Linked DNA regions of Homo sapiens: region 1 is linked to region 2. Evidence: promoter capture Hi-C in human tissues and cell types (Jung and others, 2019). All regions are on one chromosome and are shown on one strand. Each heading gives the region's core, a stretch centred on a gene start or on the middle of the fragment in contact. The rest is flanking DNA. Distances are from core to core; before and after follow the strand shown.

Region 1 (6,485 bases), core at 3,685-6,184, 74 kb before region 2:
AATGAACACTCTACTCGCTGGATCAGCTTGATTAAAAAGTTGCACACGGCAGAGGGAAAAGTCGTTGAACTTGAAGATAGTACGGTGGAAGTTACGCACTTTATTATTTTATTTTTTATTTTTTCGAGACAGAGTTTCACTCTTGTCTCCCAGGCTGGAGTGCAGTGGTGCAATCTCAGCTCACTGCAAGCTCCACCTCCCAGGCTCAAACAATTCTCCTGTCTCAGTCTCCCGAGTATTTTTAGTAGAGATGGGGTTTCACCATATTGGCCAGGCTGGCCTCGAACTCCTGACCTCAGGTGATCCACCCACCTCGGCCTCCCAAAGTGCTGGGATTACAGGCGTGCGCCACCACGCCAGGCTGGAAGTTACACACTTCAAATAACAGGGAGGAAAGAAGCCTGGAAAGAAGGGACAGAGCCTGAGACGTGTGGGATGATGTCAGGACGTCTAACACGGGTATTATTGCAGTCTCTCAGAAGAGGAAGAATGAAGGAAGCAGAATAAACATTGAAAAAGAAAAGGCCCAATTCTTCCTAAATTCCAAAGCCTCTGTCGTAATACTACAAAATGTTTCTGAGAGAAATTAAGGAAGACTTAAATAAAGTATATACTATGTTTATGGATTGGAAGATGTTATCGTTAAGATGGCAGTTCTCCCCAAATTACACTGTAGACTCAATGCAGTGTCTACCATGATCCCAGCAGACATTTTTAAAAAAATTGACAAGACGGTTGTAAAGTTTACATGGAGATGCAGAGGACCTTGGAATGGCTTAATCAGTCTTGTAGAAGAACAAAGCTAGATTTACATTACGTGATTTCAAGAGTTTCTATGAAATGTATCAAGACACAGAAGTGTTAGTGTAAAGATAGACAAATAGATGGATGGAATAGAGTAGTTATTCCAAAATAGACTCACCCTTATTTGGTCAATTGGTTTCTGACAGAGATCCAAGCAATCCAATGGTAAGGTTTTTGTTTGTTTGTTTGTTTTCTAAGAGTCAGGGTCTCACTCTGTCGCCCAGGTTGGAGTGCAGTGGCACGATCATAACTTATTGCAGCCTCAAACTCCTGGACTCCAGCAATCCTCCTTCCTCAGCCTCCTTAGTAGCTGGGACGACAGGCATGAGCCACCATGCCCTGCTCGAAAAAGAGGCGTTTTGAGAAATTGTTCTGGAACATGTGGATATTCCTATGGGAAAAAAGTGAACCCTGCTACTTCATACCACGCACATAAATTAACTTGAGATGAAATCAGAGACCTAAACAGAGTGGCTAAAACTATGAAGTTCCGATAAGAAAATATATTGTGATTGAAAGACAGCAAAGATTTCTTAGACAAGGCACAAGGATTTCTTAGGACACAGGACAGAGCCAGGATGCGACTAAGGAAAGGTGATAAATTAGGCTTTATTAAATTAAAGGTGAATGCTTGAATATCATTAAGAAAGTGAATAGCCAAGCTAGAGACTGGGGGAAGAATCACAAAACATATCTGACTAGTATCCAGAATATGTGAAGAACTCACCGAATTCAATAAGAAGACAGACAACCAATTTTTAGAAATGGACAAAAGTCTTGAACAGACTCTTCACAAAGGAAGGTATACAGTAAGGACGCAGGAGACCCCTCAGCAGCGTTAGCCATCAGGAAAGTGCCAAATAGAACCACAGTTCTGTTTCACTCCACACGCACTCTGGGGGCTGAATGGAAAAAGACCGGCAACAGCAGAAGCTGATGAGGATGTGGCGCAGCTGGGGCTGGTGAGCGCTGCTGGCTGGGGGTGTAGAATGCACCCACTTTAGAAAAGCATTTGTCAGCTGCTTATGAGGTTGAGTCTAGACCTCCCCTTTGACCAGGAGTTCCAGTCCTAGTGGAATTTTGTTTCCAAAGGAAAAGAAAGCCTGTGTAACCCCCCACCCACCACACAGGCGTGCGTGCATACACACGCACACACACAACTTGAATGCTCATATAGCAGCTTTTATTCACAATAAGCAACAACTTGGAGGCAACCCAAATGTCCATAAAGAAGGAAGATGGGTAGCACGTTGTTGTTCATGCCGTGGATTAGTACTCAGCAGTAAACAGGAATGAGCTGCAAATGTGGGCAAGTCAGAATGGATGTGTCTCAAACAAGATCCAATGTTGAGGGGAAGAAGCCAGGCACAAAAACAAATCTAACGCACAACACCGTTGACATTCTACAGACAAGGCTCGTCTGTGGTGAAGAACAGTCAGAAGGGTGGTTGCTCGGGGCGGGAAGGAGACTGATGGGGAAGGGCAGGAGCTCCGGTGAGATGAAAATACTCTATGGTGTGGGAGGGCATGAGTGACACAGGTGTAGCCACTTGTCAGAAAGGTACCACTAAGGGCGTATTTTGATCCTTAAAAAGCTTAGCAAAAATATTATGAGAACCCTATGCTTGGCATTTCTCACCAAGCTTCAGACGCAGCGGGTGCTACACAGACGTGGACTTGTACCTAGATCCGGGCGTGACAGTTCTGTCTTCAAGATGGGGCCAGGGAAGAGGGAGGCGGGCGGGGGACTCTGCCTTCCACACCCCTTTTCTAGGTCCACCCGGGCTTCAAAGCATCCTTCGAGTCTCATCTGTTCAGGAAGACTCTGACCATCCCAGCCTTCCCTATTCTCTCCCTCCTTAATATGTTTGGGCTCCAGATGGAGCTCGTGCCTCTTCCATCCCGGGATCAGTGGATCGTATCCTGTATTTCCCGGAATACGTTCAGGCCTTGTCAGAGCCGGGCACGTCGTAGAGTCCTCAGTAAATGGCAGTGCAAGGCCACTGCGGTGGGAGGCACGAGTGAAGGATGTGTGTCCATGGCATCTGAGAGACCTGCAGCAGCCCGGGCTGGGCTTTCCCATCTGCACTGTGACAAGCCTGGGGCTCCTGGGGGAGAGGAAAGACGTTGCATGTCGTCAGCAACCGGTTCTGGTCGACCTGTGATGGGGGCGGCATGGGGGCCTTTATGAACAGGCTCCTGAGTGGTGGGGGAGAGCCCTGGGCTCTGTTGGGACACCCCACAGTGTGGCCGTTTGCCATCCCTGCACGGGACGATCTCCAGGCCCCTGTCCAGGTCCGGCTTGCAGCCGTTTTTGATCCATGTCATCAGCTCTTGCAGCATTTAACGGCCAACCCCCCTCCTTCCACCTGGCCTGTTGGAGAAAAGCTGACGTCTGTCTCTAGACAGTCTGAGTGGCCTCATCTGCCCTCGAGTTGTCTCGTTCAGCAGCCTGGAAGCTTCCCTGTCTCGCCTCGCCTCCAGCTGTCAAGAGTTTTCGACAGAGGCTTTGCCGCCAGCCTCGCTCTGCCACGTGACGGAAACGTGGGGTGGCTGGCAGCCGCTGAGAACAACCCCTGCAGTCACTTGCCTGCATCCCTGGTAGCCTGGCGGGCAGAGAGGTGGGGGCTGTGTCCTTGGGGACAGCATCTGGAGAGGCAGGGGAGGTGATTTGTGTCATCGCTGGTGGCAGTTTCTAAGGCAGTCGCCGGACCTGGCTGGGGATGGACCTTTGAGATGGGTTAGTAAGAAAACCTGTGAGCTCACAAACACCCTTCCTGCCTTCATGTCTGTTCCCAGGGGAGCCTCTGTCACCAGAATGTGGGCCCAACCCGTCTGACGGCTGCCTTTACCCCGGCTTCAGTTCTCCCGCACGGCTGAGCGACACCCAGATGGACCTCTCATGGTGGAGGGCGGGTGGGGAGAGAGGAGAGGATAGTGAGCGAGGGCCACAGCCCTGCCCCTTGCTGGCTGTTTAACCTCAGTTTGTTTGTTTTAATCTGCACAATGGCCACAGTGCTGTTACCGCCAAGGATTCTGTGAGGCCCAAGAGAATAACTGTTTTTCTACAGGCGCTGGCACACAGAGGGGCTTGCCCATGGGTCGGTGGCTCTTTGAATGCTGGTTGGAGGGTTCGATCAGTCTGGTCTGTCCCAGGGCCATCTGCCCTCTGCCAACTTTGCTCCTCTGACCGGCTTTCATCCACCTCACTCACGACTGTAGTGGTGCAGAAAATGAAGTACCCGGAGCAACAGCTTCCTCCGCCTCCTTTGCCCGCCTGCCTGCGGGAGGCTCCACAAGGCAGGAGCTGGGCTCACCCCCGGCTTCCCCTCTAGAGAGGCACAGATGCTTTGCCCACAGACGGACGCCGTGTGGCTTGTGCATTGCAGCGTGTCCTCCAGGGAAGGTGCTGAGGGCCTTCCTCGAATGCACACGGGCCCTCCCTCTCTCAAGTAGACCTTGAATGGTCCTCCCCAACCCAAGCCTTAAAAGGCGACAGCTGATATTCAAAGGCGAGGTTTGGGATGAGGCCGTGGCACACAGCGTGGCTGGGGAACCCGTTCCTGAGTACCGCAGGGATTGCTCCTGCCCCGGCTTCTGTCCCTGCCTCGCCTCCCTGCGTGCTGGCCATGGAAGGGGGTGCTCTGCATTTATTTCCGTCCTTCTAGCAGTGAACTTTGCCACCCACTTTGAGCCCGGGATGTGAGATGTGTCCTTGTGCAGGGGTGAGGGCTTGCAGGACTGAATACACAACCTGTCTGGGCCTGGGGTAGCTCCTGCCCCTCCACCCCCAGGTGCAGTGAGCCCCCAACGGGGCCTGTGGGAACAGGGGGTGGTTGGATTGGCTCAGTTGCTGATTCAGTGAAAGACTTGCTGAGCCCCAGCAGGTCAGGTGTGGAGCATCAGGAGGGCTGAGGAAGCCCAGTGTGGGGAGGGGCCAGGCTCATCCGCTGCCACTCACAGAGTCACTGGAAATGTAGCCAAGGAGCTGCATCGAGTACACGAGCGTCTGCAAGAGTCCAGATCACAGACCAAGTGGGGATCCTGGTGGGTGTCTTGGAGGAGGTGGCCCGTGAGCTGAGTCCTGCAGGCAGAGGGGTGGCTTGTTGGAGTAGGACCATGAGCTAAAACAAAGCTTTATTGTATTAGATTTTGGTAGGAATTTCTTTGGCTCTGGTTTCAGAAGGCAAATGACAAACTCCGGGTCACCCTCCATGTACCCGGAAACTTTGCACCTTGGATCCAAGGACTGCAAGAGCCAGGGCTGAGCCGGAAGCACTCAGGTCTCCAGGTCACAGCCTTGGGCCAGGGGAGAGAGGCTTCTGTTCTGGAGGCAGGAGCTGGGGGCTCCTGTCAGGTAGGGGTGGGAAGATTCTGGTGAAGGCAGGGGTCCCGCCCCTGGACCTCTGGCCTACGTCCCCAGCATTTACCAAAGGGCTGGAGAAGTGGGTTCTTTGTCCTGGCAGATCCCTCTGAAATGCACCTAGTGGAGGCAGCAGGCAGAGCACTGGAGGATGCGCCTTACGCTGCCCAGTTCGCACCCACAGACGCCCTGCAGGCGGGGCCCACCCCACTTTGTAGACTGAGGCCCGGGCAGGTGACCTCGCTGTGGCCCCAGCCGCCTGCGTCCCTCGTGGACCCTCGTGCTCTGCGGCTCCCCGGTCAGGGTGGCGGGAGCCTCCCCTCCCCTCTAACCCGCCTCCTCCTGTGCAGCGAGCATGACCTGGGGGAGGACATCTACGACTGCGTCCCGTGTGAGGATGGAGGGGACGACATCTACGAGGACATCATCAAGGTGGAGGTGCAGCAGCCCATGGTGAGCCCTGCCCCGCTCCTCCCTCCCTTCCCCTCCCTTCCCTCGCAGAGCAGCCTGGCCCTTGCTTAACACAATACCGAGCTGTCCCCATGTCTGAGCCACCGAAGGGGAGCTGCTCTGGGTGCAGGGGGACGTCCAGAGGTGCACCCCTTGGTCCTTCCCAGTCCCCACGGAGCTCCTCTGAGGAGCATCCTTGGAAACCCTGGCTGACTCCTGGTCCACTCTGTGCCCTTCCTCTCTATGGAGATGTTCTCAGGTGCCCAGAGATGACACCACCACGGTCATGACCCCCGCCCGTGTTGCCATGGGATTCTCCTTCCAAGGGCTTGCAGGCCCCTCAGTTGTTCCTGCCCAGGGAGCCTTAAGATAGTAACTTGGCGCATGGTCTAACAGCACGCGTCATTTTCCCCCTTTGTGTGGAGAATGATGAGACCAATATTGGCCCAATTAGCCAGCTGTGCGTCTTTTATGTTTGGAGGATGTTTATTTCCAAGCAGGCACTGGCGAATAATCTCTCGGACGCCAGTTTGCTCCGCGTGGGTTTATTGCCAGCAGCTGCTATGTGGAAGGTGGGGATCCAGCGGAGCTGGAATGAGGAGACAGGGACCTGGTAGGGCAGGTCACAGGCCCTCAGACCCCCAGGCTCCCAAGAGTGGGTGAGATGCCACTTGCCAACCGTGGAGGCTTTTGATGCCATTGGCTTCCCCCAAAGAAATAGGAAATTTCTCAGAAAGCTGATTTCAGTGTTTTCCTTTAGTGTGGGAGTAACCAGCTGGTGGTGGAGAAGCAGAAAGCTGGGGAAACAAATCCCTAAAGAGGCCTTGCCCACTCTGCTGGCATCCTGCTGGGAGAGACAGGCAGGTGC
Region 2 (6,822 bases), core at 3,361-5,860:
CAGTTCCCTGGCTGCCCAGCCAGCACCAGCATCTCCTTTGAAGGTTACTCTTGCTCCTGCAGCTGGATGGAGAGTCCTGGTCAGTGCTGGGAGTCCTGGTCAGTGCTGGAAGGGCAAAGCTCCCAGATGCCAGCGGGAAATGCAAAAGGGCAAAATGCAGGGTAAGAACTGTGGCCAGCTGGAGTAGGAGTGACCCACCTAAGTGTGTCCAGTGGGTTTTGGGCCCCATGTGGCCAGCTTTTCAAGATTGAAGCTTGGAAATCTGGATTTTTACAGGGAGTTTCCAGGGCAACACATACAAAGACACAAAGCACAGCATGGGTCATGCCAGGGATCCCCTGCCCTTGGGCAGGCACATGAGAGCCCTGGAAGGTTTGGCTGACTAGCTGAGGGGTCTAGGCGGTGCTTGTGGGTCTCAGACCCTGGTGAGCCCAGGCTTCCAGCTTCTGCCCTCCCTCTTGCTTCTCCATCCTTCTCTCCAAATCCCCAGTGCAGACTGGGGCCCTACGCCAGGGCTGAGGTCAGCTCCCCACTGTGGGCAGGAAGTCCTTCTGAAGCCCCATGTCCTGTGTCCCCATCAGACGGTGGCAGTGCCTGCGGCCATGGACACAGTGCCCCGAGATGATTTCTTTTCTTTTTTCTTCTTTTTGAGACAGAGTCTAGCTCTAGTCTCAGGCTAGAGTGCAGTGGCGCAATTTCGGCTCACTGCAACCTCCGCCTCCCGGGTTCGCACCATTCTCCTGCCTCAGCCTCCCAAGTAGCTGGGACTACAGGCGCGCACCACCACGCCTGGCTAATATTTTTTTAAAATTTTAGTAGAGACGGGGTTTCACCGTGTTAGCCAGGATGGTCTTAATCTCCTGACCTCATGATCTACCTGCCTCGGCCTCCCATAGTGCTGGGATTATAGGCGTGAGCCACCGTGCCCGGCCCCGAGATGATTTTGAAGCACTCCTGGCACCTGCCTGGCATAGGCTCAGCCGCCGGGATCCACCATGTTTCCATGGATTCCACCGCGGATTCCATCCACCATGTTTCTTTCACTCACAAACAGTGTTAGGCCATGGAGTGGAGAGGGTGCTCCGGGGAATGAGGATCTGCATTCCGGCCCTCAGGAGCCCGAGCCCACAACGGCCCCAGGCCACAACTGCCAGGTGGGGGTCACTTCAGCAGCTCATTCCTGGGAATGCCTGTGCCCAGATGGCTTCAGGCCTGGAGCAATTTCCACCTGCCTCTGTGCATCGGTGTCAGGCAGATGGGGGCAGCCACCTGCTTCTCAGGAAGGACCACCCTTACCCTGGGAGGGCATCTCTTCTACTTTGACAGAGGATAGAAAACATTCTGTCTTCATGAAATCACGGGGATATTCAGTGGTAGTTTTCTTTTTCAGGTTCTTATTGAAAAAATAAAATCTTGGCAGTGTAAATTCAGCCCTTGAAAATTGTTCTGGAAATTTCCCTGGCCCATGAATCACCTGGGTCTGGCACCTGTTGGCTGTGTTCTCCCTCAGTTTTCCCATCTCCACGATGGGTAGCAGTTGTTGCTGTCTCATTTGAGATGACACGTGTGAAGCCTTTAGCACGCTGCCTGACTCCCAGGAGGCCCTCAGAGGTGACTGGGGCACTGCCTTCCTCCTGGTCAGTGGTGATGTTGGCTCTTATAGTTTGGGTTGGGATGCTGTTGCTCATGTCCTCTTTCACAGGGCTGCACGCAGAGCTCGGTGGAGGAGCCTCCTCCCCCAACGCCTCCGCTTCTTCCTCCCTGGACTTCTGCCCCGTCAGAGGGCAGCCTGCAGGCACCTCTCTCTGTCCTGGAAGCCTGGCCAGCAAGTCGGGGCCAAGGGCTGGTGGGGGCCTGCAGAGAGGGCCAGCCTGAGCCAGAGGAAGAGTCTTGGGGTTGGCTCAGGTATGTCCAGGCCATGAGGGCAGAGGAACAAGTCTACCACAGTCCCCACTGGAGCGGTGGCGGGGAGGCTGGGGAGGGCAGTGAACCTGGAGGCAGCCCCTCACTCCTGAATGTAGAGTCAACTGTGACTTTGATTTGCACCACAGTTTTCTTCAGAGTGCACTAAACATAGAGTCATACTCATTTTACGAGACCAGCATTACCCTGATACCAAAGCCAGATAACATTACAAGAAAGAAAATTATAGACCGATATCCTTGATGAACATAGATGCAACAATCCTCTCAAAATATTAGCAAACCAGCTGGGCGCGGTGGCTCACACCTGTAATCCTAACGCTTTGGGAGGACGAGGTGGGGGGATCACTTAAGGTCAGGAGTTCGAAACCAGCTTGGCCATTCATGGTCAAACCCCGTCTCTACTAAAAATACAAAAAATTAGCTGGGCACGGTGGTGCGTGCCTGTAATCCCAGCTACTTGGGAGGCTGAGGGAGGAGAATCGCTTGAACCGGGAAGGCGGAGGTTGCAGTGAGCCGAGATCGTGCCACCGCACTCCAGCATGGGCGACAGAGCAAGACTCCGTCTAAAAAAAAAAAAAATTAGCAAACCAAATTCAACAGCACATTAAAAAGATCATGCACCGTGATCAAGTAGATTTTATCCCTGGTGGGGTGACTTCTTTGAGGTGGCAGCCCCTCTGTTGGTGTGATCTAGAGCAGGACTGAAGGAAATTTACTCAGGGAAATTTACAAGGCTTCTGTGAAACTGACATGGCAGGGCTTCCAGCCTCCTGTTCCAAGATGGGAAAACTAAGTCTCAGCAAAGGGAGAGGTGATAAGACCAGCCCGAGATCGTACAGGACCCTGTCTTGGCCTCCTTGTCCGGAGCCTGGCCTCTCCAGAGCTGTGACTACTAGTCCCTGGGGGGAGACAGCCTTTCCACCTCTCCCAGACCGGAGCTGGGTGCTAACAGGCCCTGCCGGATGAAAATCCTACGATACTAACAGACAGCTAACAGGCCGGGACCGGCCCCCAGCCACCACCCCTTGTCCAAAGTGCAGGTTCATTGTGCTGCCCTCTTGGCTTGTAACAGTTTTGCAACAGTTGCAACTTGTCTTTGAGTGCAGGGACAGGAGAAGTGTGGGCTACCCGGCCACTGCCCTGGAGCTGTGGTGACTGCTGCGTTTTTCTCCCATGCACTTGCACGTCCAGGACTCCTGGGAGAACTTGGGCCACACTCCTTCCTTGCCCTCTTGAGCTCATTCGTCACCCTGTTGGGTGAGCACAGCCCTAGCTCAGGCCACTGGGCAAGCCACACCATCCAAAGAGGAGGTCCTCTGCCCCAGGACCCCCACACCACCCCAGGTAAGCCTCAAACTGGCGGGGCCAGCTTTCCACTGGGCAGCCAGGGGCCTAAGCCAGTGGGCCCTTTGCCTTTGAGGCAGGGACTGAGAATGGTGTCAGCACGTGGTCAGGCCCAGAGCCCAGGCCCCCTCCTCTAAGAGGTCCTCCTGGATTCCCTGCTGGAAGGAAGCCAGCCTTGTGGTGTCGTGTCTCTCCCTGGATCTGTCTGCTTCGTGGACCCTGAGCCCCTCGAGGGCAGGGGCTGGGTCTTAGATGTCACTATAGGTTTCCCAGCAGTGCTTTGTACACATTGGGCATTCAGTAAATGTAGAGGATAGACAAGCTGGCAACAAGACAGTCGGACATCCTCGGTGTGAATAAGAACACAATGATTTGATTGGTATTAATTACAGCAGTTTACTATACGATCGCTTCCGGTATTGGCAGCTGGCATCATTACAATATTAACAGACTGCCATTGAAATGCCCCGTCTTTGATCCAGCGCGAGGAGGAGATGTGACTTTCCATCAGCACCTGTTCTGATTCTTTGGGCATCCAGAGGTGTATTCTTTCTGGGTTTCCTCCACACCCCTCCTCTGGGTGTCTACTTCTGTCTGGGAAGGGGTAACTTGCCCCAGCCCAGAGTCAGGCTGCAGCATCCGGTCTGCCTCCTCCACCAGCTTGCTGTGTGGCCCCCTCCCTGGGCACTGCTGTCCCCAACAGTCAATGGAGGCTGGAATCCCTGCCCTGGGGGCTACGTGCTGTGCAGTAGCCAGTGGCTTGGGGGCATCTCCCCAAACACCAGAGGGGTCTGGGAGCTCGGGAAAGCAGGACGCAGACAGACCAGGAGACCCTGTCCCTGGGAAGCTGACCCAGGCCTTCTCACTCGCCTCTGAAGGCAGTGAGCATCCTGTCCCTGGGGGTGAGCAAACTGGGGCATGTGCTGAGATGACCTCACCAAAGGAGCCTCCCTGCAGTGGACGGGCCCCTGGCCCAAGCTGCTGCTGACCCCACCTTTCCTGCCCACCCTGCCTGTGCATAGCTCCTTCTGGGCGCGGGGAGCTCGGGCGGCTCCAGCAGGCAGGTGGTGCCTGGGTCTACTGCAGCAACCCTGAGGCGCCTGTTTCAGAGACGAGGAAATGAGGGTTGGAGCGGAAGGGTGACTGCCAGGTCGCCTACGGGTAATGGGGCATGGGGTTCACAACCCTGCTCTGCCGCCCTCAGAGGGAGCTGCCCACAGGGCTGGCCTAGAAGCCCCAACTAAGCTGGCCTAGAAGCCGCAGTGGTGGGCGGTACGCTCCGCCCAGATCCTGGGCGGAGACATGGGGCTGGCAGCGAGGGTGGGGGGCGGGGGAGGCCTGGAGTTCCGGCCAGGCCACTGCTTGGGAAGCAAGAAGGTGAAGGCACCTCTGCTGGGCCAAGCACTCTTAGGGCCGAGGGGCACTGCAGCTGACAAGAGGTACTTGGAGGTACACCCCCAGGGAGGGACGAGGCTGGGGCCTCCCCTATGTGGGCGGGGCTGGGCCTGGTCAGATCTGGCTGGGATCTCCCTCTGCCTCTGGCTGCAGGGACCATCCAGCTGCATGAGCAGGACCAGGGTTCACCATATGGGCAGCTGCCTCCCCGCCCCCTGCCGCTCCTCCCCACAAGTCTGCCTACCCTCACCAGGCGAAGGTGCCAGGCGCTCTCCTCGCTTGACCCCCACCACCCCCTGAGCCTGGGAGGAGGAGGGCGTTCCTGGGTCCTCTGCTTTGCAGTGAGGTTAAGTTGTTGCTCGAGGCCCCAGTCCTGTGACAAAACCCCCACCCATCTGTCTGATCCCAAGCCCAGGGCTGTCCTCAGCCCTCACTCCTGGGAAGCTGACTCAGGTACGAGACAGAGTTGGAGGGGGCAAGAGAGTGGGTTAATGTGGAGGCAGCTGTTTCCAGGGAGGTGGCAGGCAGGAGGGGCTCTGGGCTGTCCCCGCTGGGGCCGCTGCCAGCCCCCAGTCTGACAGTCAGAAGAGCCCTGACTGACCAGGCAGGTGGTGAAGGGGCACGTGGCAGCCTCCGGCGCCAGCAGCTGTCGCTTTTTGGGCACAGTCGGAAGGAGGAGGGAGGCTTTTGCCCACAGCTGACCAGGTGTGCTGTGCCATGCGGCACCGTGGTGGGTGGTGGGTGGTGGGGTGGGGGTGTTCAGCCTTGGAGGGCCTTCCTCGGTGCCACTCAAGCTGGCTTTCCCCTGGTGGGGCACCACTTTTGGGGGCTCCTGGAAGACTGTGGACCTTCAAGGACTGAAGGTATGTACAGACACATGCAGGAGGCATGCCTCCTTGTCCGGGGCCACCTCTGCAGGCAGGAGCCAGGCGGGCTGACACACTGAGGGCTGAGAGGCTGAGGACAAGCTCCAACACCTCCTCACTCCCCTACGCCGCTGCAATCAGACTCCCTGCTCCCTCCCTTGGGATGGGGCACTGGGGCAGGAGATGGGGGGCAGCCCTGACCAGCCTGAGAGCTGGGATCCCCCTCACATCCCCCACTGTGCCTAGGACAGGGTTCTGGGCTTCGTCAGGGCTTGGGCAGTGCCCACAGTTCAGGTGGGACAGAGTGTGGCAGTGGGTCCTGAGTCCCCCTGGGATGGTCAGAAGAGGGGGCAGGAGAGAGTCCCTGGCACTGCCACATGGAGGCCCTATGACCCTGGTCACCTCAGGGAGCCTCTCCGTGTGTCAGACTCCCCCGCTGTGAAGTAGAGACATTATCATGTGTCTATAGGTGTTCAATGAGAGTGAACGAACGTGCATAGCTATGGTCCACTCTTGAAAAAGGATGCTGACTTTCTTAGATAATTATATCAGTCATTCATACTGACGTAGGTGGCACAGCACTTCACATCTTGGATCACAGCCACATCCCTTTCACTTTTCCTGCAGATCCCAGAAAAGGGCAGTGGAGGTCCACACTGGGCAGGACACCACCCCACCCTTCCATTGAGGGCTGTTGTGAGACCTCCGTTCTTAACTTCTTAGTTTAAAGAATTTAGGCTGGGCACAGTGGCTCATGCCTGTAATCCCAGCACTTTGGGAGGCCGAGGCAGGCGGATCACCTGAGGTCAGGAGTTCGAGACCAGCCTGGCCAACATGGTGAAACCCTGTCTCTACTAAAGATACAAAAATTAGCCAGGCATGGTGGCATGCACCTATAATCCCAGCTACTCGAGAGGCTGAGGTGGGAGAATCGCTTGAACCCAGGAGGCAGAGGTTGCAGTGAGCCAAGATCATGCCACTGCACTCCAGCCTGGAAGACAGAGTGGGACTCTTTCTCAAAACAAACAAACAAACAAACAACAACAACAACAACAAAACAGAATTTAAACATGAGACACACAGCAAAAGAGCTGCAACATAGAGCAATTTATTGCAAAAGAAAAAGAACATTTTGAAAGTTAGGTGCGGATGCACCCTGGGAGAGAGAGGATTCCAGGCGGGGGGCTGCTCCTGAGTGTGAGGCAGCATTGATGATTGTTGGAGAAACCCCCTTTCAGGGAGTCTTCCACAATTATTCATAAGTGGGTGGAAAGAGAGGAAGAGGTTACTAG

What was found. Contacts are between HindIII fragments. The study calls those that stand out against the background at their distance.
Region 1: a fragment that was not itself captured here is called in contact with the fragment with the promoter of SARDH in region 2 in 3 of the 25 tissues and cell types used here (adrenal gland, ovary and spleen).

Annotation. Positions count from the first base shown.
Region 1 is chr9:133,811,249-133,817,733 of GRCh38, reverse strand. It overlaps VAV2 (vav guanine nucleotide exchange factor 2), which reads left to right. Exons shown (of 30, transcript NM_001134398.2): 5 at 5,518-5,620. Among named protein-coding and RNA genes, the nearest start is that of SARDH, 76 kb to the right of the region's middle. RefSeq lists enhancers at 2,932-3,685, 4,442-5,196, 5,197-5,952. The HindIII fragment of the contact is 4,157 bases long and covers 2,856-6,485 here.
Region 2 is chr9:133,736,140-133,742,961 of GRCh38, reverse strand. SARDH (sarcosine dehydrogenase) reads left to right here and starts at 4,610. Exons shown (of 21, transcript NM_001134707.2): 1 at 4,610-4,708. The HindIII fragment of the contact is 19,009 bases long and covers 1-6,822 here.